Linked DNA regions of Homo sapiens: regions 1 and 3 are each linked to region 2. The links are contacts of gene promoters, found by promoter capture Hi-C in blood cells and fetal thymus (Javierre and others, 2016). All regions are on one chromosome and are shown on one strand. The core of a region is centred on a gene start or on the middle of the fragment in contact, and the rest is flanking DNA. Distances in the headings are between cores, read along the strand shown. Region 1 overlaps IQCK (IQ motif containing K). Region 2 holds the start of KNOP1 (lysine rich nucleolar protein 1). Region 3 overlaps IQCK (IQ motif containing K).

What was found. Contacts are between HindIII fragments. The CHiCAGO score rates a contact against its expected background, and 5 or more counts as called.
Region 1: a fragment that was not itself captured here is called in contact with the fragment with the promoter of KNOP1 in region 2 in 1 of 17 cell types (endothelial precursors); the score reaches 6.3 in endothelial precursors.
Region 3: a contact is called between a fragment that was not itself captured here and the fragment with the promoter of KNOP1 in region 2, in 1 of 17 cell types (endothelial precursors). The highest score is 7.2, in endothelial precursors.

Annotation. Positions count from the first base shown.
Region 1 is chr16:19,830,926-19,834,503 of GRCh38, forward strand. All of the region lies in intron 8 of IQCK (IQ motif containing K), which reads left to right. Among named protein-coding and RNA genes, the nearest start is that of GPRC5B, 52 kb to the right of the region's middle. The HindIII fragment of the contact is 3,720 bases long and covers 1-3,556 here.
Region 2 is chr16:19,716,557-19,720,648 of GRCh38, forward strand. It overlaps KNOP1 (lysine rich nucleolar protein 1), which reads right to left and starts at 1,671. Exons shown (of 5, transcript NM_001012991.3): 1 at 1,602-1,671. IQCK (IQ motif containing K) reads left to right here and starts at 1,715. Exons shown (of 9, transcript NM_153208.3): 1 at 1,715-1,931. The coding sequence starts at 1,751. RefSeq lists an enhancer at 1,595-1,924. The HindIII fragment of the contact is 12,693 bases long and covers 1-4,092 here.
Region 3 is chr16:19,797,277-19,801,217 of GRCh38, forward strand. The region is part of intron 7 of IQCK (IQ motif containing K); the gene reads left to right. Among named protein-coding and RNA genes, the nearest start is that of IQCK-AS1, 33 kb to the left of the region's middle. The HindIII fragment of the contact is 1,266 bases long and covers 1,782-3,047 here.

The DNA.
Region 1 (3,578 bases), core at 447-2,946, 110 kb after region 2:
GTTGATTTCTTCCAATAGACTCCAAGCTCCATGGGCTTTCATGTAGGACCGTGTTTGTCTTATTCATCATGAGCCTGGCACAGAGCAGATGGTCTGAACATATTTAGGGGATGAAGCTCTGGGCTTCATTTTACATATGAAGAAATGAAGTTCCAGCAAGATTGAATGACTTGCCCAAGGTCACACAGCAGAGGAGAGCCTGGGGCTGGGCCCAGGACTTCCCTTTCTCTGTCCAGTGTTCTAACATATCCTGGAGGACAGATGCAGAGAGCTAAGACATTCTCTTAGATTCTGCTCTCAGACCCAGCTTCTCAGGAATCTTCTGGAACATGACATATGACCTGTTCAGTTTCCTCTCTGGGCTTCAGGGTTCTTGCTGTTTATGTTTTCATGGACTGAAGCCTCCAGCTAGGGGCTGAATTACGAGAAGCAGAGTACAACCTGCTGCACACCAGGTGAAGCAGAACTTCTTGTTCCCTTTAACTGTCGCCGAGTTGAATCACTTTGTTAAGCTCATGCGCTAGAGTTACTTCCTATTTTAAACCTTATGAATCTGGGTAGTGTGGGGGGTTACAAAATAAATCTCCCCAGCCAAGGTGACACCTCAATTAGACCTCAAAGGCTTGCAGTGAAGCAGTTTGAAAATGGATGTTAAGCACATGCTAGTTCTCCTTTAGACTTGCAATAAAAAATAGTGGAGTGATTGCAAATGAAAATGGTTTTTCAACTTCATTAAAAAAAAAAAAAGCTCATCTATGTACAAATCCAGGAGACAGGCATATCTTTTTAAGTTGTTGCCATTTTATCCACATTGTGCTCCGGCATTTACAGTACAAAGAGATTTTACCAAGTTCATAGCTTAGAGCAACCTTGGGCAGTCAGGAGGTCTGAGGGAGAGTCACATCAGCTGTCGGGGTGGAATTGTGGTCATATATAGCCTGTCTCACATTACAGTGAGTCAGAGACTGACTGTCCCAAACAGTATTTTCTTCTAGGATGGAAGCGGTGTGAAGTTATCTTCAAGTCTCTATCCATCAGGACAGATGCAGGAATTATTTTAAAACGTGTATGGTAAGAATTTCAGCCAATGTAGTTTAAAATAAGATGCCCAAGTCATTTTTGAGATGTAGTAAAAAATATCGTGTCTCGATTAATAGCATATTTTTAGCCTCACATAGTCAGTAATTGTTTTCAAATGTGCTTTGTAATTGAATATCCATATTTTATTTAGAAATCTAGTATGAGCAGGGAGAAAGAAACCATAGAAATTGTTCCCATAACATCAGATTACATTACCTATGTGTGTGTATATATATATGCACACACATATATATACATCATATATATCATCAGATAAATTTATCATGTATGTGTTTGTGTGTATATTCTTTATATATGCACAAATAATCTCTAAATAACTATCACTTCTTAACGTTTTGAAGAAAAGGCAGAGACTTGGAGAGATTGATCTGTCAAAGGAAATGAATTGTCTACTTTTTGTTTGCTTAACTGTTTTATTTCCTACTTCATTCCAAGAGTGGTTTTTAGTAGTTACGGAAATACACACAATATGATATTTTTAGGTAAAGGTGGTAATTAAGGAATAATTAAGATTAGGGAAAAAAATAAAGCCACTCAGTTCTGTAAGTAAAATACTTAACTTCAAGGCCTAGGCTGACAAATACAAATTATATATATTCAAGGTGTGCAACATGATGATTTAATATTCGTATACTGTATTAGTCCATTTTCACACTGCTATAAAGAATACCTGAGACTGGGTAATTTATAAAGAAAAGAGGTTTAATTGACTTACAGTTCTGCATGGCTGGGAGGTCTCAGGAAACTTAAAATCATGGCGGAAGGCAAAAGGGAAGCAAGGCACGTCTTATATGGCGGCAGGAGAGAGAGAGAGTGAGGGGGGAACTGTCAAACATAAACCATCAGATCTCATGAGAACTCACTCACTATCATAAGAACAGTATGGGGGAAACCTCCCCCATGATCCAGTCACCTCCCACCAGATCCCTCCTTCCACACATGGGGATTACAATTCAAGATGAAATTTGGGTGGGGACACAGAGCCAAGCCGTATCATACATACTGTGTAATGATTACTATGATCAAATTAATGAACACATCTATCACCCTTAGTTACGATTTGTGTGTGTGTATGTGTGTGGTGAGGACACTTAAAATCTGCTCTCTTACCAATTTTTAAATAAACAATTCAGTATTATTAACTGTAGTTACCATACTTTACATTAGATCCCCAGAACTTATTCATCTTATAACTGAAAGTTTGTACCCTTTGACCAACATAGAAGTTTCTTAGGAAAACCTGCCAAAGTAAGATGGAAATAGAATCTATTACATAAATTCACAGTGTCCATAAGAAAAAAGACAAAGGGCCATTTGTTCGGGAAATACTCAGCGCTTCCCTAATACATTATGCAATGTGAATCATGGCCTCAAAAATGTTCCTATAGTGAATAGAAATATGGCTCTGAGCTTCCAGGAAGCCACAACAATAAAGGAAATACGATTATTAATGATTTATTGTGTCCTCAAGATTAAGTGAGTTTCTTGGAAGCACACCTTCCTGGAGCTGAGACTTGATTTTTCTTTCATAAAGAGGACACTATAACATACTGAACACCATTTTATTCCCAAATATAGTAAGTTTCTTAGAGCAGTGTTTCCTTCTAGAGGGAAAACATGAAAGCCCAGAGTAGAGGGTGGAGACCAGAGAAAGTTCTTTTCCCTAATTTTAATTTAGACCACAATGACAAATCCTAGCGATTAGGATTTCCCTGTGGTTTAAAGGCTATTCTTAAGATGAACACCTCATCTTACCGCCCCACCTGCTTGTGACCTTAGGATTTGCTGGAGGCTGTGGTCACAGCTGTAATCCCAGTGCTTTGGGAGGCCAAGGTGGGAGAATTGCTTGAGCCTAGGAGTTCGAGACCAGCCTGGGCAACACAATGAGACCCCGTCTCTACAAAAAATAAAATTAGCCAGGCGTGCTAGCACACTCCTGTAGTCCCAGCTACTCAGGAAGCTGAGGTGGGAGGATTGCTTGAGCCTAGGAACCCGAGGCTGCACTGAGCGGTGACTGCACCACTGCACACCAGCCTGGGTAATGAGCAAGACCTCATCTCAGAATAAATAAATACATAAGATATGCTGGAACTTAGTTCTTTCCTTCCTAGCCCATGTAATTGGGTGCATTGCCGAGAGCAAAGAAGGATGTCTGCAACTAAGGAGTAGCTACGAGCGATGGAGCTTATGCCATGTGCCAGACACTACACTAAGCACCTTATGTTTCCACGTAGTCCTCACACATGGTATCTCAGAGAGGTGAGATCATCTCCATCGTACAGATGAGGAAACCGGGGCTGGGAGGATACATGGCTTGCACAAGTCCACGCAGCCAGTCAGGCCAGAGACCAGGGATTTGAACCCGGATCTACCTGATGCCAAAGAGGCTAGAGCCATCCCAGGCCATGCTGTTCTGTAACCCAAGTGCCCAATAGGCCACAGTGGTCCAGTGCAAAGCTTCTCAGCATGGTAACTAA
Region 2 (4,092 bases), core at 421-2,920:
ATGAGGAGTTTGGGTGGCCGTGCTGACACGGGCGACATAAAGTTAGGAATGTATGGGTGGTGATAAGCCTTGAACAGAACAAGCCTGAGACAAGACTTCAAGAAATACAGTAGCTCGCCACCTAATCCCAGGTTTCCGTTACCCCTGGTCAACCCTGGTCCCAAAATAGGTGAGCACAGTACAGGAAGTTATCTTGAGAGGGAGACCACATGCATGCAACTTTTATTACAGTATACTGTTGTAATTGTTCTATTTTATTACTAGCTAGATTGTTGGTAATCGTTTACTGCACCTAATTTTTTGTGAGACAAGGTCTGGCTCTGTTGCCCAGGCTGGAGTGCAGTGGCATCATCTCGGCTCACTGCAACCTCCACCTCCCGGGTTCAAGCAATTTTCACGCCTCAGCCTCCCGAGTAGCCGGGATTACAGGCACATACCACCACGCCCGGCTAATTTTTGTATTTTTAGTAGGGACGGGGTTTTACTATGTTGGCCAGGCTGGTCTCCAACTACTGGCCTCAGGTGATCCGCCCGCCTCATCCTCCCAAAGTGCTGGGATTACAGGCATGAGCCACCACGCCCGGCCCTACTGTGCCTAATTTATAAACTTTCTCATAGATAGTATACACAAGAAAAAACAGTTATATTTAGGGTTCGGTACTGTCTGTGGTTTCAGGCATCCACTGGGGGTTTAGGAACGTACTGCCCGCGGATAATGGGGGAGGGGGACTATTGTATTGGCATTTAAATAAGTGGGCAGAGATAAAGGAGCTTGCAAAGAAGAAGGTGCAAACCTTGAAATAGTGTAGTCAGGAGAGCCAAGACGACTTCAGAATAGGGGAGCAGTCAAGAGAGCCAAGACGACTTCAGAATAGGGGAGCAGTCAAGAGAGCCAAGACGACTTCAGAATAGGGGAGTGGCCAAGAGATCTGGTAAGAACAAAGAATCCACCGGGAGGTTGCGGGTCAACTCTTAATCCCCTTCTCTCCCCATCTCTTGCCATTTAGAAAAGTATAGCATCCTCCTCTTTAGCCCTGCGACCAAATGCATTCACTCTTTCAAGGAGAAAGGAAAAGAACGTTACAGTGCATCTCCTGCAAACGCAAACGCTTTCTCCAAAACCGCTTTTAAATTCCAGGGACAGCCTTGTGAAGATCTTTGTGAATACCCGACCTCGCAAGCTCCAGAGACTACAATAATTCACTTGCCCTAGGTTCCAAAGCCAGCAAGTGGAAAACGGAGACTGGAATTCCGCCCACAGGACTCCAAAGCCTGTGCAGCAACACCCCACTCCCCCGGCAGGATCACCAGCAGGACGCGCGGGAGCCAGGAAGTAAGATCCGTACCTCCAAGGCTCCCATGGGCCCAAGCCTCCGCATCAACAGACTGGGAGGGATTACGTGGGGTCCCAGGGCCGGCTCTGAGGCGGGAAAACTTTCTGGAGGCGGCGGCCTCAGGCCGGAGCGGGCGCACACCGACTGGAGGGGTCGGATTCAGGGATGTGGGTGGACCGCATTTCCCCATCTTCCCCGCCGCGCACTTCCTCTGGTGCAATCTCCACACCCCGCGCCGGCCCGCCTGCAACGCGCCCTGGCACTCACCGGTGGGCGAAATTTCCCCGCCTCCACGTGAGAGCCAGCTCCGCCGTGACCCGGAAGTCCACTTCGAGTCGCCGGCCCACCCTCTCGGGTTCCGGCTTCTTCCGGGTCGCGGCCTTCCGGCGAACGCGGTTACCGTGGAAACCGCGGCCATGGCGGCACCGCGGCAAATCCCCAGCCACATAGTGCGCCTCAAGCCCAGCTGCTCTACAGACTCGTCGTTCACCCGGACGCCGGTGCCCACCGTGTCTCTCGCGTCCCGCGAGCTGCCTGTCTCGTCGTGGCAGGTCACCGAGCCGTCAAGCAAGAATCTGTGGGAGCAGATCTGCAAGGGTAGGAAACCTGGGCTGGCCGAGAGGGGCGGGACCCGGGCGGCCGGACGGGGGCCGCGTTTGGGGAGCGCCCACTGTGCGCCTGTCGGCTGACGGGCGGGGCCGCCGGGCAGCGGCTCCGCGGGCCCGGGCTCCGCATTTTACGCATGGGGAAACTGAGGCTCGGAGAGGCTGGCCCGAGGTTACGCAGCGCGGACTCCAATCGCGATCCGTAGTGAGGTTAAAGGCAAGGGAACGGCGAGGGAAAGCTGAATAAAGAGAACCATGCGGTGTGGACCATTGGTTCTTAAACCTCGGTTAGTGAACCGAAAGGAATTGCTGGGGCGGGGGCCGGGGTGGGGATCTTGTTATAAACGGAGGTTCCCAGGCCCCGCCCACAGAGCTTCAAATTGGGATGCAGGGAATCTGCACTTTTTAAAAGAGCACCCCAGGTAATCCTAACGTAGGTAGTCGGTGGCCCACACGTTCAGTAACCATGGTGTGGACAAACGGGTTTTAGTCCCTTCTTGCTTCAAACCTTCCTTAACCTCCCCAGGCGGAGTTGAGCACATCTTCCTTTGTGGCTCTACTCAGTATTTGTTACTTAGGTTGGGCAAATTATTTAACTTATGACCCTGTCTGCAAAGTGGGCATAATAATGGCACCTATTTCGATGGTGTTAAGAAGATGGAACCAGATAGTCACAAAAAGTGCTTAGCAAACTGCCTGATTTTAGGAGGGCAAAAGGATTATTGGGGAAAAAAAAACACAAACTGCTCGATTTACAGAAGGAGCTACGTAAGCGCTAGTTCTTAATGAATAATGTTGGGTGGGATGTTTTCTTTTTCCTCCACTAGACCATAAGCTCCTCAAGGTCAAGGACTCAGATTTTTCATTCGTGTGGCCACCATCACTACCTAAGCTGCCTGAAACAGCGCGGTGAAACCCCGTCTCTACTGAAAATACAAAAAAAAAATTATCTGGGCGTGGTGGTGTGCGCCTATAATCTCAGCTACTTGGGAGGCTGAGGAAAGGGAATTGCTTGAACCAGGGAGGTGGCGTTGCAGTGAGCCGAGTTTGCGCCACTGCACTCCAGCCTGGGTGACAGAGCGAGACTCCATCCCCAAAAAAAAAAAAGTGTGGTTAGTTAGCATTTGAAATGTGATTAGTGCAATTGAGTAACTGAATTTCTTGTTGGACTCAAATTTTTTTTTTTTTTTTTTTTTTGAGACGGCATGTTGCTCTGTCGCCCAGGCTGGAATGCAGTGGCACTGGCTGGGCTCACTGCAACCTCCGCCTCCCGGGTTCAAGCATTCTCACACCTCAATCTCCTGAGTAGCTGGGATTACAGGCACCCGTCATCATTCCTGGCTAATTTTTTTATTTTTGTAGAGAAGGGGTTTCACCATTTTGGCCAGGCTGCTCTTGAACTCCTGACCTCAGGTGATCTACCTGCCTCGGCCTCCCAAAGTGCTACAATTACAGGCCTGAGCCACCAGGCCCAGCCCAGACTTAATTTTAATAAATTTAAATAGCCACATTTGGATAGTGGCTGCTGTATTGGATAGTGCAGGTCAGTAAATGTTTATTGAATGGAAAAAAAGAATGAATGTACCAGTATATGCGATGACTCGAAAGAAGTGGAGAATACAGAGAAGGAAGAGAATAGTAGACTCAGTTGATAGATGCCCTCCAAAGCTGTCTGTTTCAACCCCATCCAGTACTTAAATTCCTTCTCCAACCTTACATTGTGCTAGAAAAATCCCTTTCATTTTGCATGTTCTCTTTGTCACTTTCACCCCTACGTCCTTACCTCTTGGTGCTATGATCCAAGGAGCTAATCACTCTACCCCAAAGAATCTACTCAGATAATTTGACGGTAGTTATTGTGGCTGCCTTTTCCCCAGAGCTTTCACTTCTCCAAGCCAAACAGTTTCTTATAATACAGTTTACTAGAGGATTGTTAGAAAAGTTACTCAGCCTCATCTGTAAGAGACAGATAATTGTTGTGCCTACCTCACAGGGCTGTTGTGGGGACCAAGTAAGATAATGTATGAAAAGGTGCTTAGCACAGTGCCTGGCATTTAAAAAGTAGTCAATAAATGTTCATTATTGTTGACAAAGAAACATGCCTTGTGTTGTGATTTACACACCGAGTTTATTTTGGTCAAATAGGCCTCTAG
Region 3 (3,941 bases), core at 1,165-3,664, 81 kb after region 2:
TTTCTTGTGAGGTTCAAATATAAGGTTCTTATGGGCCATCATGATGGAAATTTCTTTAATGATTTTAGAAGTAGAGACCAGATAAATCCACTGAATATTTATTCCGTCTAAATAAGCGCCCGTGGTGTTTTATGCCTTCTACTCATTTGTTTTGTTTTATTCTAACTCAGCAGAGTCACCCAGGGTGGCATGCATTAGCAATCCTCCCCTCGTCCCAACATCAGCTCCCCTTCCAGGCATTGTGACAACTGAGAATTACGAAGTCCATCAATCATTACCCGTTATTTGATGAACAATACAGTGCCAGGTTGCTGCAGCAGCCCCTTTGAGGCCTTGCAAAAAAAAAAAAAAAACAAAAAAACCAATAAAATAAAATAACGGAGATTTCTGATCTCCACTTGCAGAGAACAATAAGAATCTGTGCATTGGGCGAACTAGGGTAAATGAGGGAACCCCCAAGGAGAAACAGCTTGGTATCAGCAGAGTACAAGGTTGAGGGTGGGACAGATCTCACCCTAGATGTGGAGGGGCTGTGGCAGCCTGGACACGTATTCCATCCTTCTGGCTATAGGACTTAGTTCATGATGGGCAGCAGACGGAAATCAGCCCAGTCAGACCTAGTGAGACTCCATTCTGGGATCCTCAGTGGAGTGGCTGGGACAGAGCAGCCCTCTTTGCACTGGGGTTACCGTGAGGCCAGACTGTCAGCACCATCTTAACACAGTGTGAAGAGCCTGTTGGAAAAATGACCACAGAGGCAAGCAGGGGTAAGAGGCAGAGAAAGGGGCTGGGTCCTGAAGTTGTCGTTTGAGGGCCTGCATTCAGCTATACCAATGAATCCCCTTAAAGATGGACTTCAGGGCGGGCACAGTGGCACACGCCTGTAATCCCAACACTTTGGGAGGCTGAGGCGGGTGGATCACTTCAGGTCAGGAGTTGGAGACCAGCCTGGCCAACATGGTGAAACCCTGTCTCTACTAAAAATACAAAAATTAGCTGGGCATGGTGGCGGGTGCCTGTAATCCCAGCTACTTGGGAGGCTGAGGCAGGAGAATCGCTTGAATCCAGGAGGAGGAAGTTTCAGTGAGCCGAGATCATGCCATTGCACTCCAGCCTGGCGACAGAGCCAGAGTCCATCACAAAAAATATATATATATATATATATATATTTCGGTCACTTACAGCCTAGAGTCCTGACAATAAAATTTTCAGTATGAAAATATGCAGACTTTTTATTACTGGCACACAAAGGAGGATATTGGCACAAAATGAAAATCTGGACCCAATGGTAGAGAGCAGCCATTTCAATTTGTCCCAGGAAAAGACTGTCCTATGTCAGCTTGAGGCTTGGCCATGGCTGGAGAGGAGAGCCTACCCCAACAAGCAAATTTGTCTAAAACGTATATATATTTTTTAATTGTGCAAGTAATGCATATCACTTGTGGAAAAAATAGATAATGCATATAAGTTTTGGGGTCTTTTTTTTTGACAGACAGTGTCTCACTTTGTCACCCAGGCTGGAGTGCAGTGGCGTGAACATGGCTCACTGTAGCCTCAATCTCCTGGGCTCAAGCAATCCTCCCACCCCAGCTTCCTGAGTAGCTGGGACTACAGGCATGTGCCACTATGCCCGGCTAATTAAAAAAAAAAAATTTGGAGAAGGGATCTCACTATGTTGGCCAGGCTGGTCTCAAACTCCTGGATATAAGGGATCCTCTCACCTTGGCCTCCCAAAGTGTAGGGATTATAGGCATGAGCCACCGTGCCCAGCAATGCATATAAGCTTTTTAAAAATATATACTATTCATCCTTCTAGAATTTTTTCTATTCATATGGAAATTTTTAAAACATTTTTTACAAAATTGCAATTATAAACACTTTTTTAAGCCTACTCTCTCTCCTTAATATATATTGGGAATATGTTTCATTATTGCCACACAAAGATGTACCTCACAAATTTTAATTCTTCTATGGTATATATATATATTTTTTTTATTTTTTAAATTTATTTTTGAGATGGAGTTTTGCTCTGTCACCCAGGCTGGAGTGCAGTGGTGTGATCTTGGCTCACTGCAACCTCCGCCTCTGGGTTCAAGCGATTCTCCTGCCTCAGCCTTCTGAGTAGCTGGGATTACAGGCGCCCACCACCACACCCATCTAATTTTTGTAGTTTTAGTAGAGACAGGGTTTCACCATGTTGGGCAGGCTGGTCTCGAACTCCTGACCTCAGGTGATCTGCCTGCCTTGGCCTCCCAAAGTGCTGGGATTATAGGCATGAGCCACCACACCTGGCCTATATTTTATTTTATATATATATATATACACACACACACACACACACACACACACACACACACACACACACCCAGTGAATACATTGAGTCATAACTTAATCATAGGTGGTTAGACATTCTTGTTTCCTCTCCTATATATTCAGTGAAAAACATTATTGTTCAAATTCACACACCTGTAGTCCCAGCTACTCAGGATGCTGAGTGGGAGGATCACTTAAGCCCTGGGAGGTCGAGACTGCAGTGAGCTCTGATAATGCCATTGCACTGCAGCCTGAGTGACAGAGAAAGACCCTGTCTCTCAAATAAAACAGAGCAAAATAAAAAACAAAAACAGAAAACCAAAAACCCAAAAGCATCCTCGTTCATATGTCTGCACACCTGTCCGATTTTTCTCCAGATTAATTGCTGGCATTGGAATTGATAGCTCAAAGAGTAAGCACCGTTTCTCAAGAGTTCAGATCATTATTGATAAATTACCCTCTAGAGAGGCTGGAGTTCAACCCCTAGACCAATCTATATGCACACCAGCAATGTATGCAAGTGTACTTTAGCCATAGGTTTTGATGGGAAAGTAGAGAGAGGAAGGAAGGGATTGGGAGCGTGATGCATGTCTCGGGAGGGTGGAGTTGTGAGGACACCATGCTAGAGGGTATGAGAAGGGAGGACCAGTTTGTTCAGTTGTGTGGGCTGTGCGCTGCACAACTCGGGGATACCATTCAAAACCATATGTATTAGACATCTGAGGCTTGGAGAAGCTTGGGAAATAGTAGTTGAGTGGCCACTTGCTACATATTTTTAAATTCCGCTGGCCTACCCAGCTCCTAGCCTATGGTTTTTAAAACCCCTCTGCTAGCTGGAGGCTGGATGAGTCAATGGAGCGTGTATCGGTGATACCGTATAGAAGCACTACTGTCTTGATCAAGAATTTGCATTTTCTTCCTGAAATTATGCAGCATCTTAAACATGAATATTCAATAATATTTAATATTCAATAATAATAATTATAAAATAAATATTGGGAATTTAATCCATAGAGTATTATTTAAACACTAAAAATAATCAACATCAGTCATGGTAACAAGATGGAAATTGCCCATAGTATTACTAAGTGAAAAATGAATAAAATGCCACGTGCAGATTATTTTATGATTATGTAAAAAATAACTTTATATAGAAAATAGGCTACAAAGACATATGTAAAATATTGTGATTGTTCAGTGGCAGGATAAGGAGTGATGTTTTTATTCTCTCTGTTTTATATTTTTAAAATTATTTACAAAGAACATATATGGCTTTTACAAAGTAATAAAAACTTTACTTAGAAACCTATATTCCACCATGATAATGTTTTTTACTCTTTTCTTCTTTAGTTAAAATTTGACATACTTAGACTATTTTTTCTGAGCCTTTTTAGGAGTGTGTGTTTGTGTGTGTGTGTAAATATGCAAAAAAAATTTGAAACACTAGTATTTGGAAAGTGTTCTTTGTTTTATTTTAATCTGATTGTTAGTGTACTCTGTTCATTCTGAAATTCCAAAATCATCTTGTTTTGTATTTCATAGTCTTTCTAATAGTGTTTTTGGTTTTGGGTTTGGGCTGTGTGTGTGTGTGTCTATGTACACAATAAGTGCTTATGGTTAAATAATA